Regions from separate parts of the Homo sapiens genome. Here all the other regions are linked to region 7. Evidence: promoter capture Hi-C in 16 types of primary human blood cells and fetal thymus (Javierre and others, 2016). All regions are on one chromosome and are shown on one strand. Each heading gives the region's core, a stretch centred on a gene start or on the middle of the fragment in contact. The rest is flanking DNA. Distances are from core to core; before and after follow the strand shown.

What was found. Contacts are between HindIII fragments. The CHiCAGO score rates a contact against its expected background, and 5 or more counts as called.
Region 1: a fragment that was not itself captured here is called in contact with the fragment with the promoter of RPUSD3 in region 7 in 5 of 17 cell types (naive CD8 T cells, naive CD4 T cells, activated CD4 T cells and 2 more); the score reaches 6.7 in naive CD8 T cells.
Region 2: a contact is called between a fragment that was not itself captured here and the fragment with the promoter of RPUSD3 in region 7, in 1 of 17 cell types (neutrophils). The highest score is 5.5, in neutrophils.
Region 3: a fragment that was not itself captured here is called in contact with the fragment with the promoter of RPUSD3 in region 7 in 1 of 17 cell types (M2 macrophages); the score reaches 5.4 in M2 macrophages.
Region 4: a contact is called between a fragment that was not itself captured here and the fragment with the promoter of RPUSD3 in region 7, in 1 of 17 cell types (total CD8 T cells). The highest score is 5.5, in total CD8 T cells.
Region 5: a contact is called between a fragment that was not itself captured here and the fragment with the promoter of RPUSD3 in region 7, in 8 of 17 cell types (total CD8 T cells, fetal thymus, activated CD4 T cells and 5 more). The highest score is 13.4, in total CD8 T cells.
Region 6: the fragment with the promoter of THUMPD3 here is called in contact with the fragment with the promoter of RPUSD3 in region 7 in 1 of 17 cell types (fetal thymus); the score reaches 5.4 in fetal thymus.

Annotation. Positions count from the first base shown.
Region 1 is chr3:10,326,491-10,329,949 of GRCh38, reverse strand. ATP2B2 (ATPase plasma membrane Ca2+ transporting 2) reads left to right here. Exons shown (of 23, transcript NM_001001331.4): 23 at 825-3,459. The coding sequence ends at 1,136. Among named protein-coding and RNA genes, the nearest start is that of MIR378B, 2.0 kb to the left of the region's middle. RefSeq lists an enhancer at 1,118-1,666. The HindIII fragment of the contact is 4,701 bases long and covers 1-3,459 here.
Region 2 is chr3:9,389,731-9,393,158 of GRCh38, reverse strand. It overlaps THUMPD3-AS1 (THUMPD3 antisense RNA 1), which reads left to right. Exons shown (of 4, transcript NR_132781.1): 2 at 2,662-2,869. Among named protein-coding and RNA genes, the nearest start is that of THUMPD3-AS1, 5.2 kb to the left of the region's middle. The HindIII fragment of the contact is 4,963 bases long and covers 1-3,428 here.
Region 3 is chr3:10,209,502-10,212,919 of GRCh38, reverse strand. It overlaps IRAK2 (interleukin 1 receptor associated kinase 2), which reads right to left. Exons shown (of 13, transcript NM_001570.4): 4 at 3,228-3,331. Among named protein-coding and RNA genes, the nearest start is that of TATDN2, 37 kb to the left of the region's middle. The HindIII fragment of the contact is 2,369 bases long and covers 722-3,090 here.
Region 4 is chr3:10,193,258-10,196,651 of GRCh38, reverse strand. The region is part of intron 2 of IRAK2 (interleukin 1 receptor associated kinase 2); the gene reads right to left. Among named protein-coding and RNA genes, the nearest start is that of IRAK2, 30 kb to the right of the region's middle. The HindIII fragment of the contact is 326 bases long and covers 1,829-2,154 here.
Region 5 is chr3:10,252,364-10,255,478 of GRCh38, reverse strand. All of the region lies in intron 2 of TATDN2 (TatD DNase domain containing 2), which reads right to left. Among named protein-coding and RNA genes, the nearest start is that of TATDN2, 5.5 kb to the right of the region's middle. The HindIII fragment of the contact is 8,400 bases long and covers 1-3,115 here.
Region 6 is chr3:9,360,897-9,364,461 of GRCh38, reverse strand. It overlaps THUMPD3 (THUMP domain 3 tRNA guanosine methyltransferase), which reads right to left and starts at 1,408. Exons shown (of 10, transcript NM_001114092.2): 1 at 1,335-1,408. It also overlaps a transcript of SRGAP3 not described here. RefSeq lists enhancers at 959-1,018, 1,039-1,118, 1,189-1,248, 1,469-1,678. The HindIII fragment of the contact is 4,632 bases long and covers 820-3,565 here.
Region 7 is chr3:9,842,064-9,845,336 of GRCh38, reverse strand. It overlaps RPUSD3 (RNA pseudouridine synthase D3), which reads left to right and starts at 1,329. Exons shown (of 9, transcript NM_173659.5): 1 at 1,329-1,447; 2 at 1,736-1,872; 3 at 3,094-3,138; 4 at 3,255-3,273. The coding sequence starts at 1,347. RefSeq lists an enhancer at 1,387-1,466. The HindIII fragment of the contact is 7,859 bases long and covers 1-3,219 here.

The DNA.
Region 1 (3,459 bases), core at 134-2,633, 480 kb before region 7:
TACCTCCCAAATGCATGAAGGAAAGAAACGCTGGGTACAAACGACCTCCGTTCACATTGTCCAGGCTTCCAAGTGTAGCCGTGTGTCTGTCTGTGTGTGCCATGTGGCTCCCGGCCTCCCCGTGGCATGCAGCCCGCCCCCGAATGTCATCTGTCCGCCAGCTCCCATGTGCTTTCTGGCTGCCTCTGCTCTGCACCTCAGAAAGCCCTGGGTTGGCTTTGGTTTGCTTTGCTGCCTTTGGTTTGATGTTCCCGTTCTGTTTGGCCCTCATGTGTCTCTCTCATCCCAACTCATCCAACCGTCTCTCCTTTCTGTGCCTTTTCTGTTTGTGACACGTAACATGTTCCATGTTGTATGGTTTCTTAACTGTGTGTGGTTTTCCTAAGATGAATTTTTTTAATAGCCTCTCCTCTTTCCTACTTGATTCCCACCTGGTCCTCCTCCCTGTCTGCATGGTTGAACCTCTGCTTTAAAGTGAACAAGGCTCAGTCTCTCACTAGGTGTGGGTGCCCGCAGGAGTCGACTGTGCTTCCTTTAACCACTGTTCCCCATCATCTCTTTGATGGTGCTTGGTGATTCCTCCTGTCCTAACACTAGTTTCTACCAAAACCAAAGAGATTTTTAAAAACCAGCTCAAGGATGCCTATAACCTGAGCCCCCTTTTTCACTCTCCCCCATCCTGTCAATGCTAATAACACCCAGCGACTATGGATTCCAGCCACCTGCTTTGCCCTAACCCTTCTCCCACCCGCCCCTCCTGTGAGCCCCCCGAGCCTGGCTGTGGTCCCTGGGCAGTGCTCCTGACCCCTGTGCTTCCCTTGCAGATCCGCGTCGTGAAGGCGTTCCGTAGCTCTCTCTATGAAGGTTTAGAAAAGCCTGAATCTCGAACCTCCATCCATAACTTCATGGCTCATCCTGAATTCCGGATCGAAGATTCCCAGCCCCACATCCCCCTCATTGATGACACCGACCTGGAAGAAGATGCCGCGCTCAAGCAGAACTCGAGCCCGCCGTCATCCCTCAACAAGAACAACAGCGCCATCGACAGTGGGATCAACCTGACGACCGACACAAGCAAATCAGCTACCTCTTCAAGTCCAGGGAGCCCCATCCACAGCCTGGAGACGTCGCTTTAGCTGAGGACCCTCTCGCCTGCCCGCCCGCCCTCATGGACCCCGCTGCCACCCGCTTTCCGGGCACCCATCCATCCAGGCACCCAACTCACCCAAGCAGCAACGAGCAACAATCGGAAACCAAATACTGGAGAGAAAACCAACGTTTCCACCCACAGACCCTTTCTCTGGCTGCGATGCTGTTTGAACTCTTTTTCACTTCAAGGCAAGGGGCGGGATCTCCACTGGGGGCTTACGGGAGTGAGCGGTTTTCCCAAAACAAGCCCTTCCTGGCTCCCACCCAGACATGGACCAGCCATGCACCCGCCCAGCCACCACGTCCCCCGCATGAATGTACTGTACACTTTCAATCCTCCCCTTGTTTGGTTTTTGGGGGTTGGGGAGGGGTTTTTGTTTGTTTGTTTGTTTTCTTAGGCGGGAACTGCAAACAGACTCTTTTCTGAGACTATTTATCCAATCCACTGGTCTGTGAGTTTTTGAAATGCTTGCACAGCATGGTCTCAGTTGTATAGATTAATTTAATAACTTTTTGAAATTGCAGAGCTTAACTCGCCTAGTAGATTTGCACCAATGGAACCGAAGAACTTCATAGACACTCACAAGGTTATATCCATTTCTTTGTATCTATATCAACGTATACTTTTCCGAGACTGTATACGTCCATATAGATAGGTAGATATATATATATATATATAAATATATATACATGGATATATAAAGTTTCTTTGCCGGCATGTTGCCTTGTTTCCGCTTAAATTGCTCTATTTTAACTTATTTATGTCCTAAAAGAAGAATGTAATTTGTTTACAAACCTGTAGATAACGTCTTTGGCTATTTGTATGGTTTAAGAACACTGGTGGCTGAGATGCTATAAAAACAGCTCGGCCCAACAGACACTTCCCCTGGGTTGCATCCTGGATGTTTTATGATAGCCATGCTCTGATTTTTGCCTGCTATTTCCGTTCAATAATGTCACTACCGTGAGAGGCTCAGGCAGAAGCCAAATGCTACCGAGTTGCCATCCTGAGGGGTTTAACAACATGCTCCGTAGACGAAGGGAGAGGAGGAGAGAAGGCTTCCTGGGTTTGCAACACTAACGGCCATCCGGCCCAAGGATGCCAGGATCTGCAAAGCACTGCTCGAAGACTTTTCTCTCAATGAAACTCGCTTGAGTTTACTAAGAGCATTTCAAAAATAGGTTCTCTTTGGCACTGTCTGTACAGAGATTGAGGTAGTGTTGAAATATTATAAATGGTATTGTGTTGATTTTTTTTTTTATTTAGTAACTTACAGGTTTGTTTCCTTATTAATGGCAGCATCTGAGCTGTTGGCATATTGGATGAGGATCAGTATGGCTTGCTGCTTTTATTTTTATTTTTGAAGAAGAATAGCCTTTTTCTCTGCACTATTTAGATCCGAATGAACCTTATGATGTGTATATTGAGATGTACTCAGTGTGATTTTAAACCAAATTGTCTTCCTGTAGTCACAATATATACTGTAGCCTTTTAACAGCAAGTCTTGCTTTCCCAAACAGAAAGCCATTCTGAAACCCTACAGTATCACAGGTGAGAAAAGGTGGTTATTTTTTCCCCAAGACAACAGCACTAGTAATCCCACTTAATAAGAGCTTATTTAATTGGATGTCAGCCTCTTAACTGCTAAGCACTTTGTGGGTCTCAGCGTTTTTCATAAAAGAACTTTTGTATTTAATACAAAGTTTGCTTTGAGACTTTTCAGCATATGATCTTTTTTCCATAAACTTGTACAGTGCAAAAGACATTTTGAATACCATGATCGATGATGTCCCATGCTTCGAGGAAAACCAAACACTTTCCGCCTCTCTTGCAAAATCCATTCCTCATGCTGACCCTCCTCACGATGGCTGTGTCAGCCCAGCCCCTTCCCTTCTCCAGGCCCAGAGAACTCTTCCACAAACAAGATGAGAGCCACTCGGGAAAAGAGCCATAGTCAACTGGGAGGGCCTACATCTGGATGGCGGTGGAAAAACTTGAGGGTTTGGGGTTCAAAGTCAGCCCATCCCACCTGGCAAAATCCTCCTGGAAGGAGGACCTTCAAGAGCGCATCACCTGAATGTCGTGAAGAAGTATCTCTGAATGTATCCAGGAGAGGAACTGCATAACCAAAGGGGTGACCAGCCCTCAGATGTGCTTATTGGATTCCAGTACAAACGCCACCAAAGCCAGCCCACTGCTCTCCTACAAGGAAGGAAAGATCTGCACGTGTAAAACATGGGGCAGCCTTGGAACATGGTGTTTTTTGGAGTTTCCTTTCTCACAGTTTTCCATCTCCCCACTTCTTTGAT
Region 2 (3,428 bases), core at 746-3,245, 450 kb after region 7:
ATTGCAATCCTTAAGGAAAGTGATTTTTCAGTGCCTAAGCACAGAGCTGGAAGCTCAATAAATGTTAGTTTTGTTGGTTTATACGTGAAATTGATTCTCAAGTAATAGTTAAGCTCAGAAAACATATAAACAAGGCTTTTTGGGAGAGACTTCAGGGTCCCATTTAACCTACATCTCCTAATATTCTATTCATAGAGGAAACTGATGCCTCATGGTCTCTGAGTACATCTATCCCACCATTCAGTTCTTCTTTGGGTTTCCTGTACTAATCATTGCAGTTATCCTTTTCCTGCACCTTACTTCCTTGGGCTTTTTGTTTAAATTAACCAGCTACCTATCTCCTTTTCAAGTAGTTACATACTATTTCTTACCCTTATAAGACAAATTTATTAAGTATATTACACGCTTGTACTTGGATGAGAAAGCTGGTGAAACTTTTGTCAGGGCTAGTGTGTGTGTGAGATTTGCAAAATGTAAACTTAGGTTACTTCCATATATTTTTTGTGAGTGGAGGTTTGGCATAATTACATAATTCTCTTTTACAACACTCTGGTTTGACTGTTAGGTTAATTGTAGAGCACCTTGTTAGGTCACAAATCCAGAAGTCTGGTACTGGACTTTGCAGGTTGCTTTCTTAGTGGCATATTAGTTTATATTAGAGCACATACTTCTCAAGAAGCCTTTTTTTTCTTATCTGTGACTCTCTCTTCTTGAGATGGGATAATGTATTGGATTATTAGAGAAGTGTGAGTATTGAATCAGATAGTTTTATTTTATCTAGAGCAGGGTTAAACCTGATGAATTGTTTCTGCTCTCTCATGGAGTATATCTTCTTGGTGACAAAGACTTTTCTGTCTCTGATTTTTATCTTAGTCGTGGTTACATTTAATAATCCTGCTTTCCAGCTTTTCCTAGAGATCAGTCATCAGTGACCTTTTGTCTTGATACTTTGTCACCTTTTGTTTTCTGGTTTTGGGTTTTTTTTTTCTTTTTTAAACATATGTAACATTGGCTTTTCCTGCTGACAACAGTAACAGAGTTTCAGATCATGTTTATAGAATGGTTATTTCATCACCTAACTAATCTCACCTCTAGTGTATGGATTCTGGTAAAGTCAGTCAACAGTCTTCACAGCCTTTTCTATTTTTACTGACCTTGATTTAAAATCTAATCTTAGACCTTGAGGTATTGCTTACGAATAGTGTAATAATGAGGTACTACTTATAACAAATAATGGTAACATACTCTAGTGCGTACTATAGGCAAAAGCTAATGGAAACATAGGTAGAAGAAATGAAGTAATAGTTATTGAATGCTTTTTGTGTACTGCAGGTGTGGAAACAGGAAGAGAACTAGAACTGGAAGTAAAGCATTGAAGATGTGACTGAATTGCTGCAATCTCATGATCAAATTTGAATGGATGAGGAGTTGCTTTTTAGGGATGAGCAAAGAAAGTGGTTTCTCGAGATGGAATCTACTGGTGAAGTTGCTGTGAACATTGTTAAAATGCCAATAAAGGATTTAGGAATTACAGAAACCTGGTTGATAAAGCAGTGCCAGGGTGTGAGAGAGTTGACTTCAATTTTGAAATAAGTTCCACTGGCTGGGTGTGGTGGCTCACACCTGCAATCCCAGTACTTTAGGAGGCCGAGACTGGTAGATCATTTGAGGTCAGGAGTTCAAGACCAGCCTTGCCAACATGGTGAAACCCCACCTCTACCAAATTAGCCAGGTGTGGTGCACACCTGTAGTCCCAGCTACTTGGGAAGCTGAGGCAGGAGAATCTCTTGAACCAGGGAGGAGGAGGTTGCAGTAAGCCGAGATGGCGCCCCTGCACTCCAGCCTGGGTGACAGAGTGAGACCTTGCGTTTAAAAAAAAAAAAAAAGGAAAAGGAAAAAAAAGTTCTACTGTGGGTAAAATGCTATCATGCTATCAAACAGCATCACATGCTACAGAGAAGTCTTGTGAAAGGATGTCAGTGTGGCAAACTTCATTGTCTTTTAAGAAATTGCCACAGCTATCGTAATCTTCAACCACCACCACCCTGATGAGTCAGTAGCCATCGTTAACGTTGGCGTAAGACCCTCCACCAGCAAAAAGATTGTTAGCATTTTTTTAGCAGTGATGTATTTATCAATTATACATAATGCTATTGTACACTTCTTAATAGACTATGGTATAGTGTAACCATAATTTATGCACTGGGAAACCAACAAATTCATGAGATTCGCTTTATTGTAGTGCTCTGGAATTGAGCCTGCCGTGTTTCTGAGGTATACCTGTGTATTTAGTATGTTCCTTGTATATAAAACCCCATTTTATAGGGTAGGAAACTAAGGCTTAGAGTTTGAGCAATTTTCCCATAGATAACACCAATAAATTGAGGGCTGCAGAGACCACTTAAGTGGTTCTCTTAACAGTAGTCTAGACATGACGTAATGAGATTTGGCTTAGGAGTGACAATGGTAAGGAAGTTAAAGGATTCAGGAACCAAATACCAGTTATTGAGAAGAAAGAATGGCCTCAAAACATCACTTCTCAAGGAAGCCTTGATACCCTCACCCTTACTACACTGTATCCTCCATTTGAATGTTGTCAAGAGCTCTTCTCACAATTGTAAATAATAATTGTGTAATTTTGTTTTTTTTTTCCTACTTTAGGTTGCTCCTTGAGGGCAGGACAGTTCTTATGGCTTTATCCGTTGCGTAAGCACAGAGAGGTCTGCGAGGTCAAAACTATTGTCATGATAGCAAGATGCCTGTCTTTTTCATTTATTCTCACGGTGTGCAGAGGCTACATGATGTGTGATGACATCCTCATTGATGTTAATGAATGGTGCTATACTTGAATTTTCTAAGGTGTCATTAGGTAGGTTTAGGTATGCATACTTGTTTTTAGAAATTATTTTTTTCCTTTTTCCCATTTTTAGAAATCAACTCATTTTTTAGGTTATGCCTTCAGTAATCTTTGCAACCTCAATATTGTGTAATGGTTACTTTAAAATACTGTAGTTTTCTTTGTGCCTAAGTATAAACATAAGTACATTTTGTTGTTTTGTTTGCAATAGTGGTTTAAATATTTTCCCAAAATATCCAAATTTAAAAATTCTACAACTTTAGAATTTAATAAATTTATTCTAAAATATTTATATATTTTTTCATTTAAGAATGGATCGGCTTAAAAAGACTGCTTCTCATTTACTTACTGGCTATACCATCTGTATACTAATAAAAAACAAGATTTGATTTGGAAGGACTGACTCAAACTAACGAAAATATGAAACCTGTCTTTCTGCTTTGGAGATATTTACCTAATCATGTTCTGCAGTAGAATAATTTAGTTCTTTTGTCTTTTTTTGGAGATGAGGTCTTGCTGTGTTGCCCAGGCTATTCACAGCTGCCATCATAGTGAACTACAGCCTGAAACT
Region 3 (3,418 bases), core at 657-3,156, 370 kb before region 7:
GGTGGCGGGCGCCTGTAGTCCCAGCTACTCGGGAGGCTGAGGCAGGAGAATGGGGTGAACCCAGGAGGCGGAGCTTGCAGTGAGCCGAGATCGCGCCACTGCACTCCAGCCTGGGTGACAGAGCGAGACTCTGTCTCAAAAAAAAAAAAAAAAAAAGGACATGGATAGGCCCAAGCTCAAATCCCAGCTCCATCTGTATCTTGCTCTGTGACCTTGGGTGAGTTACTTAACCTCTCTGAGCCTCAATTTTTTCCATCAGCAAAAATGAAGGTAACAATAGTACCCCGAAGAGTAATTTTGAAGACTAAGATGTGAGTATTCCTGGCACATGGTTGATGTTTCCTTTATTTCAGTTTACAGAAGTAAGCACTGAGGAAATAAAACAGCTGAAGTGAGGTCCCACAGCTGGTCAGTGGCCGAGCTCAGCACTCTTGGTCTAATTCACAGCATAGATACTGGGGTTCCAGACTCCTGGGAAGTAGGATACAGGTTCATATAACCAAACCAGGGGTGTCCAATTTTTGACTTCCCTGGACCACACTGGAAGAAGAATTGTCTTGGGCCACACATAAAATACACTAATACTAATGATAGCTGATGAGCTTTAAAAAAAAAATTGCAAAAAAAACTCATAATGTTTTAAGAAACTTTACAAATTTGTGTTGGGCCACATTCAAAGCCATCCTGGGCTGCACACAACCATGGGCAAGTAAGACAAGCTTGCTTTAAACAGAATTCCAGAGACTGCATGTGTATATAAGCCTATAAAAAGAAGTTCTGTTTCCGTTTTTAATAACTTCTCTCTTTAAAACACATGTACGTAATTTTTTTTTTTTTTTTGAGACAGAGTCTCGTACTGTCACCCAGGCTGGAGTGCAGTGGTGTGATCTCGGCTCACTGCAAGCTCCGCCTCCCAGGTTCACGCCATTCTCCTTCCTCAGTCTCCCGAGCAGCTGGGACTACAGGCACCCACCACCCTGTCCGGCTAATTTTTTGTAATTTTTTTAGTAGAGATGAGGCCTCACCGTGTTAGCCAGGATGGTCTCCATCTCCTGACCTCGTGATCCGCCCGACTTGGCCTCCCAAAGTGCTGGGATTACAGGCACGAGCCACCGCGCCCGGCCTAAATTTCAATTTTTTTAAGTTACATATGCTCTTAACAGTTTTTGAAAATTAGTATCCATAACCCCATTATCCATTTAACTGCTATTAAAGTTAGTGTATTTCCGGCCAATTAGATATACTAGGATTTATTTAACAAAACTGGTATCATGCCACACACATAGTTTTGATTTCTTTTTGAGACAGGGTCTCACTTTGACACCAAGGCTGGAGTGCAATGGCATGATGTCAGCTCACCGCAGCCTCAACCTCCCAGGCTCAAGGGATCCTTTCATCTCAGCGCCCCCAAGTAGCTGGGACTACAGGTGTGTGCCACCACGCCTGGCTTATTTTTTAAACTTTTTTTTTTGGCGAGGCCAGGCACAGTGATTCACTGCTTGTAATCTCACCATATGTGGGAGGCCAAGGCAGGCGGATCCTCTGAGGCCAGGAGTTCAAGACCAGCCTGGGCAATATGGTGAAACCGTGTCTCTACTAAAAATACAAAAATTAGCCAGGCGTGGTGGCACACACCTATAATCCCGGATACTCAGGAGGCTGAGGCAGGAGAATCGCTTAAACTGGGGAACCAGAGGTTTCAGTGAGTCGAGACAGCCTGGGCAACAGAGGGAGACTTTGTCTCAAAAAAACTTTTTGGCCAGGCACGGTGGCTCATGCCTGTAATCCCAGCACTTTGGGATGCTGAGGTGGGCGGATCACATGAGGCCAGGAGTTCAAGACCAGCCTGGCCAACATGGCGAAACCCTGTCTCCACTAAAAATACAAAAAAAAATTAGCCAAACATGCTGGCATGTGCATGTAATCCCAGCTACTCAGGAGGCTGAGGCAGGAGAATAGCTTGAACCTGGGAGGCAGAGGTTACAGTGACCAAGATCGTGCCACTGCACTCCAGCCTGGGCAATGGAGCGAGACTCCTCAAAAAAAACACAAAAACAAAAAAAACTTTTTTGTAGACACAGGATCTCACACTGTTGCCCAGGTTGGTCTCAAAGTACTGGGCTCAAGTGAACCTCCCATACCAACCTCCCAAAGTGTTGGGTTTATCCTTCATGGAAGGTTGATCTATTTATTAATTTAGAGATGGGGCCTCCCTGTGTTGCCTAGGCTGGTCTCCAACTCCTGGGCTCAAGCGATCCTCCCACCTCAGCCTCCCAAATAGCCAGGACTACAGGCATGTGACACCACACCTGGGACATGGAAGAGCTTCATTAACCACACTCATGCAAAGCTGGCTTCTCCCCCAGGCACTGGATGCAAAGGGTCTAGGCTCACAACACTTTTAGGGGCCATCAGAACATTTTAATTTATTTTAAAATCAGAAGAAAATAAATGGACTTTTAGAGTCAAAGAAATGTCCTCATTTTTAATCCTGCTTGGATTTTATTTATCTTCGTACCAATATGGTCATACATTTTTGGAGACAGGGTCTCACTCTGTCACCCAGGGTGGAATGTGGTGGTAGGATCACAGCTCACTGCAACTTCTGCCTCCTGGGCTGAAGCCATCCTCCCGCCTCAGCCTCCCAAGTAGCTGAGACCACAGGTCGAAAATAAAATAAAATAATAAAAGAAAATAATGGCCGGGTGCAGTGGCTCATGCCTGTAATCCAAGCACTTTGGGAGGCGGAGGCAGGTGGATCACCTGACGTCAGGAGTTCGAGACCAAGCTGGCCAACATGGTGAGACCCCGTCTCTACTAAAAATACAAAAAATTAGCCGAGCATGGTGACATGCACCTGTAATCCCAGCTACTTGGGAGGCTGAGGCAGGAGAATCACTTGAACCCGGGAAGCGGAGGTTGCAGTGACCCGAGATCGTGCCACTGCACTCCAGCCTGGGTGGCAGAGCGAGACTCTGTCTCAAAAATAATAATAATAACAAATTAAAAAACAAGAAGTATATTCACTGAAGTGCCCTCCCTCCCTCTCCCCGCTATTATTGACCTCCTCTACTTACAGTCTTAGAAGCTTGGGGTAATTTGATGGCAATTTCCTTTCTCCTCTCCACCCTTAAACTGGTCTCAAGGGGTAGAGAAATTGCATTTTTGAGAGGGAACTACACGCTGGGAGACATGGCTTGGGGGCTGCAGCCGAGGGGTGGATTTACCTTTGAATCAGACGAAGTGGGGAGGTCGCTTCTCAAGGAATGAGGGGCATCTTCTTCAGGAGGCTGGAGAAAGGCCGGCTGGTGGGCTCTGGCTGGAGAGGACCCTGGAAAGGAGGGACTATGGGTCAGGATGCAGCCTCGGGGAGGAAGACAGGAGGGATCCTGGTCTAGTCCTCAGACTATGCCAGTCT
Region 4 (3,394 bases), core at 742-3,241, 350 kb before region 7:
CCCAGAGAACATGCACTTCTCTCCCAACCTGGGCTCCACGGGCACTTCAGTGGTTCTATAGGCCACACCCCCCCATCCTGATTGCCATCAGGCCAAGGCCTTTGTGGCTGAAACTCGGAGTCTAGAAGCCAGTTTCTCTCCAACAAGGGCCTTGCCTGCAGGAATCACAGGATCACTGTCTGCCTCATGGCATCCCACTGCCTTCCACAGGCCCAGGAGGAGAATAAACAGTCCCTAGGCCGGGCACAGTGGTTCACACCTATAATCCCAGCACTTTGGGAGGCCAAGGAGGGCAGATCACCTGTGGTCAGGAGTTCTGGACCAGCCTGGCCAACATGGCGAAACCCCGTCTCTACTAAAAATACAAAAATTAGCCAGGCGTGGTGGTGCACACCTGTAGTCCCAGCTACTCAGGAGGCTGAAGCAGGAGAATCGCTTGAACCTGGGAGGCGGAGGCTGCAGTGTGCTAAGATTGTGCCACTGCACTCCAGCCTGGGCAATAGAGCAAGACTCTGTCTCAAAAAACAACAACAACAGAAAACCAGTCCCTTGTACAGAATGACAATGAACAATGTCGGGGTGAGTGCTGATTCAAGCACGGGTCTGGAACAGAGCTGTCGCTCCCAGGGTGCACAGAAGTGAAAGCTCTGCCTGTGCTCCCTTGGAAGGCTACCCCCCGCCACTCCCAGTCCTCATCTTTCCCAGCCTCCCCTCTCTGGCAGGGAGAGACTGCCTCTCTCCCTCCACCCTCCCTCCTCAAACTGCCTCAAGTGGGGCTTATGCTCCTGGAAAGGCTTGTCATCCTTGTGACATCTGTGTCAAAAGGGCAGCAGTGGCTCCCCTGGCTCAGGGCCGGCTGGGCTCGCTGAAGTCACTTCCCAACAGTGACCTCCTGCAGAGGCCAGGCCCGCAACAGTATAAAATGCTCCCTAAAGGTCTCACCTACACCCAGAACCGCCCATGATCCCAGCAAATGAGGCACCTTCTCCTTGTCGGAGGCCTGCCTGGCTGAGCCTCATTGTTCTCATCACAGTAAAACGGGGATGAGGGTGATACTTACAGCCTTACTTAACTTCAGTGTCCTGTTCCTTTTTTTTTTTTTTGAGACAGGGTGTTGCTCTGTCACCCAGGCTATGCAGTGGTGTGATCACAGCTCACTGCAGCCTCAAACTCCTGAGCTCAAGCTATCCTCCTCTCTTAGCCTCCCATGCCGCTGGGATTACAGGCAACACCACGCCCAGCTAATTTTTAATTTTGTGTAGAGACAGCATCTCACTATGTTGCCCAGCCTGGGCTCAAACTCCTAGGCCCCAGTGATCCTCCCACCTTGTCCTCCCAAAGTGCTGGGATTACAGGCCTGAGCCACTGCTCCCAGTCCAGTGTCCTATTCAGGGTAATGTTTTGTTCAGCACAAATCTTTGCCTCTCTGTCAAAACACATTTGGCAGGAACATCAAGGCCACCAACCCATTTGTGGCCGACCTCTGTGGGCTCCACCCGTGGGGAAGATAAAAAATGTCATTATGTTTTCATCCTAAAGAGAGTCCAGCTTTTCTCTTTCTTTTTCTTGTTCCTTCTGCAGTGACATGCGGTGGCCCCACCTGGCACCACAGGGCATTTGGAAGTGAGCAGGAGTGAGGAACAGATGGGGAGGGGCGGTGTCGGCAGGGCTACCTGTGACCAGACCTGTCAGCACACTTGGGGCTAACATCCACCCTCCCACACAAGAGGCACCAGGTCACACCAGCCACGGATGTAAGCCAACAGAGCCCCATGTCAGCCCCAACAAGAAGTTCTGGTTTCCTGTGAAACCCCCATCTTCTCAAGCTTTGAGTTTTTAGATGTCTTTAAAATGCAAGCAATAAATGGTGCGTATAAACATGAACCGCCCTCATCTCCACCCTGGAGCTGCCGGCATGGTCTGAGCTGGGTGGACAGGCAGGCCCATGCATGCCTGTCCCACTGTCCAAACATGAAGATGGAGAAAATGGCCTCTGTCCTCATCCCTCCAAACCTGCTCCCTGCTAGCTAGAAAGACGCAACGCCCACTCATTCAGGCTGGCACACCAGAGAGCTAGTGAAATAAAAATAGAACACCAAAGGCAGGATGAGGCAAAGGAGGCCAAATGCCTACAAGAAAGGGCTGTGACAAGCTTTAACTCTCGCACTGAGCTTCCTATCTGCCAAGGCCAAGGCTCAGGAGTGAGCTGCTCACGGACTTCTTATCACAGATAGACAGGGGCAGCCTCAGGCTTCCAAGACAGCACTCTTTCCTCCCAGGATTAAATTCTCAAGAGAATTCCACACATAAAGTTGATTCTGCAGGATCATGAGATCCAAAAACACAGACTGTGATCAAAGAGTAGAACTAGGATCACAAGAGTAAGCGTGGGGAAGCGTCGGCTCTGGCTTGAGCCAGACCCAAGCTCTGCGATTCCAGCTTCACGCCCAGGCACAGACCTCCTAACCCTCTGAGCTTCATGCGCCTCTCCTGTGGAATCAGAATAATAACCCCACACCTCCCAGGGCCGTCCCAGGGCTCCATGATGACAAATGTGAAGTGGCTGGCCCAGGGCAGGGGCCCACAACACTGTGCAAACAGCCACCCTCCTTCAGTTCTGCCAGAAAGGTGCAGATAGAAAAGAACCTCTGATTCCCAACTCGGGCCTCCGAAGGAAGCATTTAGGGTGGAAGGCTATTTTTAACATTTTAAACACTCTAATGGAAACCGATTCTAGGTGGGCAGCAACTTGGTGCACAGTCCCGAGAGGTACAGTGGCCATGAGAGCAAAGTAACATAGGAGCCCAGCAGCAGGGGAGGTGGGGGCCTGTGCCCACGCCATTGGCAGCCAGCCTCAGTCACACACTGGAGGTGGGCAGCCCAGGGTTCTCCCTGCTGGGACCCCCAGGGATAGGAAGGGGACGCAGGTGACGGAAGGAACAGCTAATCTATAGCTTAGGTGGCCACAGGCACCAGAAGGTTGACACGGCAGTTCTCAGACAGAGTCTGGATTTTTTGTTTTTGTTTTTGAGGCAGAGTCTTGCTCTGTGACCCAGGCTAGAGTGCACTGGTGCAACCATAGCTCACTGCAGCCTCTACCTCCCAAGTTCAAGCAATCCTCCCACCTCAGCCTCCCAAGTAGCTGAGACCACAGGAGCACGCCACCACGCCAGGCTAATTTTGTTTTTGTTTTTGTTTTTGTTTTTTTTTGGTAGAGACAGGGTTTTGCCATATTGCGCAAGCTGATCTCAAACTCCTGGGCTCAAGCAATCTACCTGCCTTGGCCTCCCAAAGTTCTGGGATTACAGGTGTGAGCCACTGCACCCAGCCTGGAATCTGGATATCCGTGAAAGCTGCCTTGCTGAGGCTGAGAACCCACAGTGATGAGGGCTGA
Region 5 (3,115 bases), core at 178-2,677, 410 kb before region 7:
ATTTACAATTTACAGAAGTGCTACAGCCGTCATACTTCTTTTACAGAAAGTGAAACTGCTACATGGCTTGTAAGTGGCAGAACCGGGATTCAAACTCAAGTTCTCCCTAACATCCTGGAAGCCAAGGGAAAGGAGTAATGAAATATGAAAGTGAGAAACACTGTTGGCTGGGCATGGTGGCTCCTGCCTATAATCTCAGAACTTTGGGAGGCTGAGGCAGGCAGATCACTCGAGCCCACAAGTTCAACACCAGCCTGGGCAACATGGCAAAAAAACCCCTCTCTACAAAAAATACAGAAAAATTAGCTGGGCATGGTGGTGCACGCCTGTAGTCCCAGCTACTTGGGAGGCTGAGGCAGGAAGATCACCTGAGCCAGGAGGTCAAGGATGCAGTGAGCCAATTGCACCACTGCACTTCAGCCTGGGTGACAGACAGGAAAGGAGGGAGGGGGAGGGGGAGGGGGAGTGGGAAGTGGGAAGGAGGAAGGGGGAAGGGGGAAAAAAAGAGAGAAAGTGAGAAACACTCTCCTAGGCTGGAGGACCTAAGATGGATCAACGACACCGAGGATGAGTTTCAGCAGGTGACAGTTGGCTCTAAAGGTAAGAAGTAGGTAGACCATGGGCAGAAGGTAAGAGACAAACCACCTGACTTCATAAAGGGGAGAGTTCGTTCTTCCTGGAAGCACTGCTTGGTGAACTGTGCATCTCCAAAGGAAAGAAGGAAAGATAAGTGGAGATGTTGCTCCAGCCCTATCACCAGTAGCCTGAAGGATTTCAACAGCTCCTCACCAGCTCCCTGTCTTCTCCCTCCTACCCTTTCTCTGCAGCGTGCCAGAGGAGCTCTAAAATGCAAACCCCACCACTTCAGCCTTAGTTTAGAACCCTTCCAGGGCTCCACATTTGCCTACAGAATAATCCCTACCCCTGAGCTCATCAGGAACCCTTCACAGACTGGCCCCAGCCTTCCTGTCTAGCCTCATCTCCTGCCTTCCTCCAAACACGCAAGTGTCCAGGGAACGCAGGAGAGCACGGATGAGAGAAGGGAGGGCCAGCAGTGCCCCAAGCACTCCAGACAAGCAGCATTTCCTGACATTTTGGGCATGTATTGCTCCCTATGCCCGAAATGTCCTGTCCCCCTCCTTGTCCATCAGTAAGACTCAGATGTCACCTCTTCTGTGAGGACCTTCCTGATGGTCAGTCGCTCATTCCCCTGACCCTTGGGTACTCCAAACCCATCCCTGTTACAGCTCTCCACTCACTGCCCCGTGGTGAGTGACTTCTCAGTCTGTGAAGCATGGCCCGATTGTCCTTGGCAACAACAGCCCCAAGCCTGGTGTTCCACGTGTGCACTAGACATGTGCCAAGTGGAGATGCAGGAAAGGGGATGTGCAAAAGCTCTATCACTCAAGAGCCTCAATACCCAGTGCTTTACTGTGCCTGGGCTAACTCACCCTGCAGAGAGCTCCGCAAGGGAGGGACCCTGGCACCTTCGTCTTGCCACCCCTACATCTGATGCCAGGCTAGAACAGAGCAGGTGCTCCCAGAGGCAGCAGTGCAGAGAACACTGGCTTTGAAGTTGGACTAATCTGATATTACCCCACAGCTCGGCCATTTACCAGCTGCATGGCCTTGGTCAGCTTATTTAACCTTTCTGAATCTCATCTGCCCAGTGCCTACACAGAGTAGGTGCTTAAATATTTGTTAATTGATATGAAGGTATTTACTAATGGATATGTGGAGATAATACCACCTACTTCACGACACTTTTGGGATTATGTGATAGTCTATAGATCAAACATCGAGAATCATAGTTGACCAAGCCTTATCATACATGCTCAAATTTTCCCTTCCATTCTTTCAACTCTAAATTGAATGTAGACATTTAGATGTCATAGTAAAAATAATCTTTACTACATGAAGGTGCTCGTCACACAGTTAGTCTCCTCTGTGAAGAGTAAATGAAGATCATCAGCTAACATGAAACATCTCCAACTGTCCTGGAGGTAAGAAGGGAACGATGTGAGGTCAGCCAGCAGGGATCTCTACCGATTCTAAAATGACCAGTCTAACACCTTCCCCTCAGAATATTCTGTGACCTGGCACAGAGAAAGATGTGTTAAAGGCTGGTGGGAGAAGGGAACAAAGTCAACTGTGTAACCCTCAAAGTTTACAGAGCAAGGCCAGGCACAGTAGCTCATGCCTGTGATCCCAGCACTTTGGGAGGCCAAGGTGGGAGGACTGCCTGACCCCAGGAGATTGAGACCAGCCTGGTCAACATAGGGAGACTCTTGTCTTTACAAAACACAAAAAATTAGCCAGGCAGGCCAGGCGCGGTGGTTCACGCCTGTAATCCCAGCACTTTGGGAGGCCTATGCAGGCGGATCACGAGGTCAAGAGATCGAGACCATCCTGGCTAACATGGTGAAACCCCATCTCTACTAAAAATACAAAAAAATTAGCCGGACATGGTGGCGTGCACCTGTAGTCCCAGCTGCTGGGGAGGCTGAGGAAGGAGAATGGCGTGAACCCGGGAGGCGGAGCTTGCAGTGAGCCGAGATTGCACCACTGCACTCCAGCCTGGGTGACAGAGCAAGATTCTGTCTCAAAAAAAAAAAAAAAAAAATTAGCCAGGCAGGTTGGCACACGCCTGAGTTCCACCTACTTGGGAGGCTGAGGCAGGAGGATCGCTTGAGCCCAGGAGGTTGAGATGCAGTGAGCTATGATCATGCCAGTGCACTCCAGCCTGGGTGACAGAGCAAGACCCTGTCTCAAACAAAAAAAAAAAGTTTACAGAGCAGACACAGGAGAGCAGTGAGAGGACTCTAGAAGGACCTGAGGATGAACATGCCATTTTTGTGAGTACCCCTCGGCTGTGCTTGCTGAAGGACTTAGGACCAGGACAGATAAGTTCACAGATGACCACAGAGCAAGGGAGGAAGAGGTACAGATGAAGGTGGAAGGTAAGAGGTGTTTTGTAATTCATCAAGATGAGTCAAGTACTGTACACTTGGTTTTTAAACTGACAAACATATACTCCAGGAAGAGACTTCAGCAGTCCTAGAGATGGACAATCAGGGTAATATAAAAACCCTCACTCGACAAGAGTGATCTTTCT
Region 6 (3,565 bases), core at 159-2,658, 480 kb after region 7:
GGGAGGAGAATTGCTTGAATCCGGGAGGTGGAGATTGCAGTGAGCTGAGATCATGCCACTGCACTCCGGCTGGGGTAACAGAACAAGACTCTGTCTCAAAAAAATAAATAAATAAATAAAATAAATAATAATAATAATAATAATATGGGGCTTTTGGAGTTTCAGATAGATACAGGTTTGAATTCTTGCCTCCACCATCATAGGTTGAATGACTTATGGCAAATTAATTCTCCCAAACCTTCAAATGTAATTAAGTAATTAGTAATACCTCTTTCCTAGAGTCGTTAGGAGACAAGTGAGAGTAGTACCTGGTTAGGCCAATAATTAAAACTTATTAATAGGCTATCTATCTTCTTCCCTCCTGTGAAATAGCATTTCATGCATTTAAAAATGATTAACTGGGCTGGGCACACTGGCTCATGCCTGTAATCCCAGCACTTTAGGGAGCTGAGGTGAGTAGATTGCTTGAGGCCAAGAGTTCGAGACCAATCTGCGTAAGATGGCAAAATCTCATCTCTACCAAAAACACAAAAAATAGCTGGGCGTGGTGGTGGGCGCCTGGAGTCCAGCTACTTGGGAGGCTGAGGTGGGAGGACTGCACTCCAGCCTGGGTGACACAGTGAGGCCCTGTCTCAAAAAAAAAAAAAAAAAAAAAGAAAAAATTAAAAATAAAAATGGTTAACTGAATACTTACTATCTAATGATTACAAATGTTCAAACGCCTACTACTTGCCAGACTCTGGGATCCATAGATGGGCATCAGGAGAGAGATCTTGGAAGTAATCCGAAATAGTAAAACAAATTTCCTATGCATAAGCTTTTGTGTGTGCTTGGGGTGGGGGCCGGGGGAAGTATTAGAGAGGTGGAGGGGCCATAGCTTACACGAGATTTTCAAAAGGTCTGTGACTCAAAATAACTTAATTGAGTACAGAATACCTATAATGTCCTTGTGCTGTGCCAGCGATACACGACAGTGTTTAACACTACGTCAGTTCCCGCCGTTAAAAAGCTGACAGTCACTGTGAATACAATCTCCATCTTCTAAAAAATGCAGCTGAGGTCAGCTAAAGGACGCGTTCCGCACAAGGTCAGAGAGCCAATGAGAGGCGCAGAATGAAAGAGAACTCACGTCTCCCAACTCCCACCTACAGGGCCCGGGAATCCTAGGGAGCGGGTAAAGGCCTGGGAGAGGGAGCAAGATGGGCTCCGCCACGAGATCCGCCTGAAGTCCGGCTCGGCGCCGGCCTCAACTGCAAGAGGAAGGCCACCCCTCTCTCCCCAAGCTGAAACACCAGAAGAGCCACACTCGGCCGTTCCCAACCGCCGCCAGTTACCGGCCGCCAGCGAAGACCCTTTCAGCTCCCACACTCCATTGGCCTCTTGCGGTCAGGTCACGCCGCCGGAAGCCGCCCCCGGAAACGGAAGTCAGGCTACGAGTCACGGTGGCTCCGCGCTGGCGGCGGGTTCCCCCACAAGGTCTTGGGGAAAGGAGCATGCGCTGGAAGCTGTGTGCTGTTGGTTTTGAGGATCTTCAGTAAGCTGAAAGCGGAGAGTCAGGGGCCTTGTGTCCTACCATGGTATTTGCTAACGTTTAGAGAGTGCTTCCCCTTGCCGAGCACTGGGTAAGCGCTTCACATGCGTCATCTCATTTGGAACAAGTCTCTTTTGTTCTAGCACCTATGAAGTGGCAGAGACTGATTTCTGTTTTAAAGCTGGAGACACCGAGTCTCTCCAGCTTATTTAAATATCTTTCTCAAAATGTCATGCCACTAGTTCCTGATTTCTGTATTGCCATCACTATTTTAGCACTGTTTACTTCATATTTTTCTTTAGTTTAAAAAAAATAGAAATAGTGGGGCTCACTATGTTGCCTAAGCTGGTCTCGAACATCTGGGTTCAAGTGATTCTTCTGTCTAGCCCTCCTAAAGTGCTGGGATTACAGGCATGAGCCACTGTGCCCAATCAGATGAACTTTATTTCTCATAAAGGGTTGAACCTGGCCGGGCACAGTGGCTCATGCCTGTAATCCCAGCACTTTGGGAGGCTGAGGCGGGTGGATCACTTGAGGTCAGGAGTTTGAGGCCAGGCTGGCCAACATGGTGAAACTCCATCTCTACTAAAAATACAAAAGTTAGCTGGATGTGGTGGCCTGCACCTGTAGTCCTAGCTACTTGGGAAGATGAAGCAGAAGAGTTGCTTACCCAGGAGGCAGAGGTTGCAGAGAGCCAAGATTGTGCCACTGCACTCCAGTCTGGGAGCAAGACATCATCTCAAAAAAAAAAAAAAAAAAAAAAAAAAAGAGTTGAACCTGCATGGTAGCCATTTTGACAGACTGGGAAGCCTAGCTTCCAGTCAGAAGCCAAAAACAGGCACTTCCAGGGTTGGAAGAATAAGACAGGGATTTATGCTAAACACAGTGGCCAAATATACATGTTAAATAAACTGTAAGAGGGGTCACGAATATTTATGAAAGGAGCAATTTGTGCATGTGCAGTTGAGCTTCATGCCTCTCTGTGGATCCCATGTTTAAAAAATGGTGGCCTTAGCATGATCCAAGGGTAGAGTTTTCTACCGCTTGACTTCAAAAGGTGAAGCAGGGGATGTGAAAACCCTCACTGCACGTCCTCTGTCGACTGGCCAGAACCACTCCCTGGATGGTGGGTGATCTCTTATCAGGAAGGAATGCTAGTCGGTTGTTCTATTGAAACTGCAAATGGGAGGGTCAGCATCAGGCTGGTGGAGTGAGTCTTTCAAAAGGGCTGGTTTCTGTTTAACCCTTAGGAAAGAAAATCTAATGGCGATTATAGAGGGAGGGGTTATAAAGAGGTGTGTCCGACTTCCCATCCTGTCATGAGTAGGAACTCAGCTTCCAAGTTTTTTCTAGGGTCTCCTTGGCCAAGAGAGGGCCTGTTCAGTCAGTTGGGGGGCATAGAATTTTATTTTTATTTTTCAGTTGACAAAAGTTAACTTATTGTGAAAGGAACCCAACAACAAAAAGATAAACCGAATTTAAAACAAAACAAAACCAAAAAGAACACAATTTATAAATGTGCAAAGGGGCTGGGAGTGGTGGTTCATGCCTGTAGTCCCAGCGCTTTGGGAGGCTGAGGTGAGTGGCTCGCTTGAGCTCAGAGTTTGAGACTAGCTCTGGCAACATGGCAAAACTCTGTCGCTACAAAAAAATGACAAAAATTAGCTAGGCATGGTGACACTCACCTGTAGTCCCAGCTACTCGGGAGGCTGAGACAGGAGAATAGCTTGAGCTGGGGAGGTTGAGGCTGTAATGAGTTATGATCACATCACTGCACTTCAGCCCAGGTGACAGAGTGAGACCTTGTCTCAAAAATAAAATGAAAAATATGTAAAGGGCTTGAATAGATATTTCTCCAAAAGATGGACAAATGGCCAATAAGCACATGAAAAGATGCTGAACATCATTAGTCATTAGGGAATTGCAAATTAATCACAATGGGATACTCATCAAAATGACTAAAAGTAAAAAACAAAAAATCAACAGTTCCAAGTTCTAATGAGTATGTGGGGCAATGGAGCACTTATACATTGC
Region 7 (3,273 bases), core at 80-2,579:
GTGAAACCCCGTCACTAAAATACAAAAAATTAGCCGGGTGTGGTGGCGGGCACCGCACCTGTAATTCCAGCTACTCAGGAGGCAAAGGCAGGGGAATCGCTTGAACCCGGGAGGTGGAAGTTGCAGTGAGTCGAGATCGGGCCACTGCACTCTAGCCTGGGTGACAGAGCGAGACTCTGTCTCCAAAAAACAAAAACCAAAACACATTAGGAAAATGTTCACACCAAACTCAAAGTGGAGACTGGGGAGGGAGTGAAAACTGGAAGCACGCAGTAAAGGGGAATTTACTTTTATCCCTTTCATTTCTTAAACAAGAAAAACAGGAAACCTATACATATATATATTGTTTCACAATGACTAATTCTGATGGTAGGAATGTGGGCAGTCATTATATTATTCTTTTTTTTCTGTGTTCTTCTACTTTCTTTTTCTTTTTTCTTTTTTTTTTTTTTTTGAGACGGAGTCTCGCTCGTCGCCCAGGCTGGAGTGCAGTGGCACGATCTCGGCTCACTGCAAACTCCGCCTCCCGGGTTCACGCCATTCTCCTGCCTCAGCCTCCCGAGTAGCTGGGACTACAGGCGCCCGCCACCACGCCCGGCTAATTTTTTTGTATTTTTGGTGGAGACGTGGTTTCACCGTGTTAGCCAGGATGGTCTCGATCTCCTGACTTCGAGGGGCCACAGGACTAGTAGAGCCAAGAGTTGAGGGTCCGGGTGGGGTGATCCGGCCGTCAGAAATGCAAAAGCCTGGAAAGACATCTCCAAAGGCCAATCTCAGGTTGGACAATCGTGAGCTGGGGAAGCTGCAAACACTGTGACCTCCGGAATAACCGCTGGTAATCAGTTACCTCTAACCCTTAGCAGAATTCAGGTCCCTCTACTACTCCTAACCTGGTGGCCTTTCATTAACTCTATGAAGCCAGTTTAGTTCGGGGGAAGGGCAATTATCATTTAGACTACGAACTAATTTCTCCCAAAGTTAGCTTGGCCCAAGCCCAGGAATGACCAAGGACCGTTTAGAGGTTAAAGGCAAGCTGCGGGTTGGTTAGATCAGATCTCTTTCGCTGTCATAATTTTGTAATATAATTTTTGCAAAGGCGGCTTCAGGTTTTTTGCTAAGACAGGTTTTTTGATCAGATCAAATTCTTCTGCTACAGCGCTCTCCCTAAAAGCATAGGAAGGCATTTCTGCATTTCCTTCCTGGGCGGAGGAAAAGCCCCGCCTCCTCAGGCTCTGAGTCCCGCCCGGTCACCATTCCGATTGACACTCCAGCTGACCAATCAGCGCGCTGGCTGGAGCGCGGGTCTGCCCCTCTGGACGCACATGCGCGCTGTCCTGGCTCGGGAGATGGACGGCCGCCGTGTTTTGGGCCGGTTCTGGAGTGGCTGGCGGCGGGGCCTGGGTGTCCGCCCAGTGCCCGAGGACGCAGGCTTTGGCACCGAAGCCCGGTGATTAAGTACCCCCTCTCTCATGCGGGACGGAGGCTAGGGCAGGGGGAAGGCACGTGCGGGATCTGGATCAGGTAGATGTTACCCGAAAACAGCCCCGTTGGCCTCTCTGAGCCTCGGTGCCCTCCGCTGTAGAATGGGACCGGTCGTACCTGAATTTTCGAGGTCAGCCCAGACATTGTGAGGCATTTGTCAGAGGCCGCAGGATTTGGGAAGAGGCGTCCGGAGATAGGAATGGGTGGCACCTCGGGATGGAATGACTCCCATTGCTTCTCCCTCCTTGTCCAGGCATCAGAGGCAACCCCGCGGCTCCTGCCAACGGTCGGGGCCCCTCGGGGACCAGCCCTTCGCGGGGCTGCTGCCAAAAAACCTCAGTCGGGAGGAGCTGGTTGATGCGCTGCGGGCAGCCGTGGTGGACCGGAAAGGTGAGGGGTGAGAGGCACGGCCGCACAAGGACCGGGAGGGGACTGCCTCGGCGTGCAGTTGGGCTCTCCATTGAAGCCACGGGATCAGCCCTGCTTCTGCCTCCCACTAGCAGCATGAGCTGGGACAAGCCACCTAATTTGCACCCTCTCCCCGCTTTTAACCCTACTGCCATGATGCAGTAGGGTTAAGAGTGGGGAGAAGATGCAAATAACTACCGAGCCTTGCACATAGCCGGCGCTCAGTTACGGGAGTTGCTATACTAGATTATTGTTTATTGGCCGCGGTGGCTCACGCCTGTAATCCCGGCACTTTAGGGTGCTGACGCGGGCGGATCACCTGAGGTCAGGAGTTCGAGACTAGCCTGGCCAACATGGTGAAACCCCGTCTCTACTAAAAACACAAAAATTAGCCAGGTGTGGCGGCGTCCGCCTGTAATCCCAGCTACTCGGGAGGCTGAGGCAGGAGAGTCACTTGAACCCGGATAGCAGAGGTTGCAGTGAGCCGACATCGTGCTACTGCGCTCCAGCCTGGGATGACAGAGCAAGACTCAGTCTAAATAAATAAATAAATAAATAATGATTATTTATCGACGGACAAAACACAGGCTTTGGAGTCAGACATACCTAGGCTCTGTGATCAGCTTGCTGTGCGGCTTTAGGAAAATAACTGAATTTCTCTGAACCCCACTCTCTATTCAGTGATTTATTCCTTTTCTCAACTATTTCTTGAACATATGCTATGTTCCAGGCACTGTTCTAGGCAGGCTATACAGTGCTGAAAAAGATAGATATGGTTTCTGCTCTCAGGGGAGAAATGGATTTCTCTCTAACGGGAGAAATGGATGTCAGAAAATAAATGAACAAGTTACTAGTGGTAAGTGCTATGCATAAACTAAAACAGGGTGTTATGATGGTGAGGAACTGCAGGAGGAAGGCAGACATTAGATTGGAGATTCAGACCTCTCCGTGATGTGACATTTGAGCCAAGATGATAGGGAGCCAGACCTGGGAAATTTGGGGACAGGAAACAGCAAGTGCCGAGGCTCTGAGGTGGCAGAGGAACAGAAAGAAGTTGAATTTGGTGTGGGGTAGTTAACTCATGTCTGAGAGTCATGATGGGGACATGTGCTAAGATGCGTGAGAAAGTGCTCTGGAAACTCTTTAGTGCTGCATAAAGGGTTACCGTTGCTTTTGCTGATGTTCGTGTGATGTATGTTTCAGGACCTCTAGTGACGTTGAACAAGCCACAGGGTCTACCAGTGACAGGTATGGGCCGGGGATGTGGGAAGGGAATGCAGCGGAAGGGGGTTTCGTGACTGAGGGAGGGAAAAGTGAAGGCATGAAGCTTTGGCCTCTTGTAATTTTTCTTTCTTACTTTCCAGGAAAACCAGGAGAGCTGAC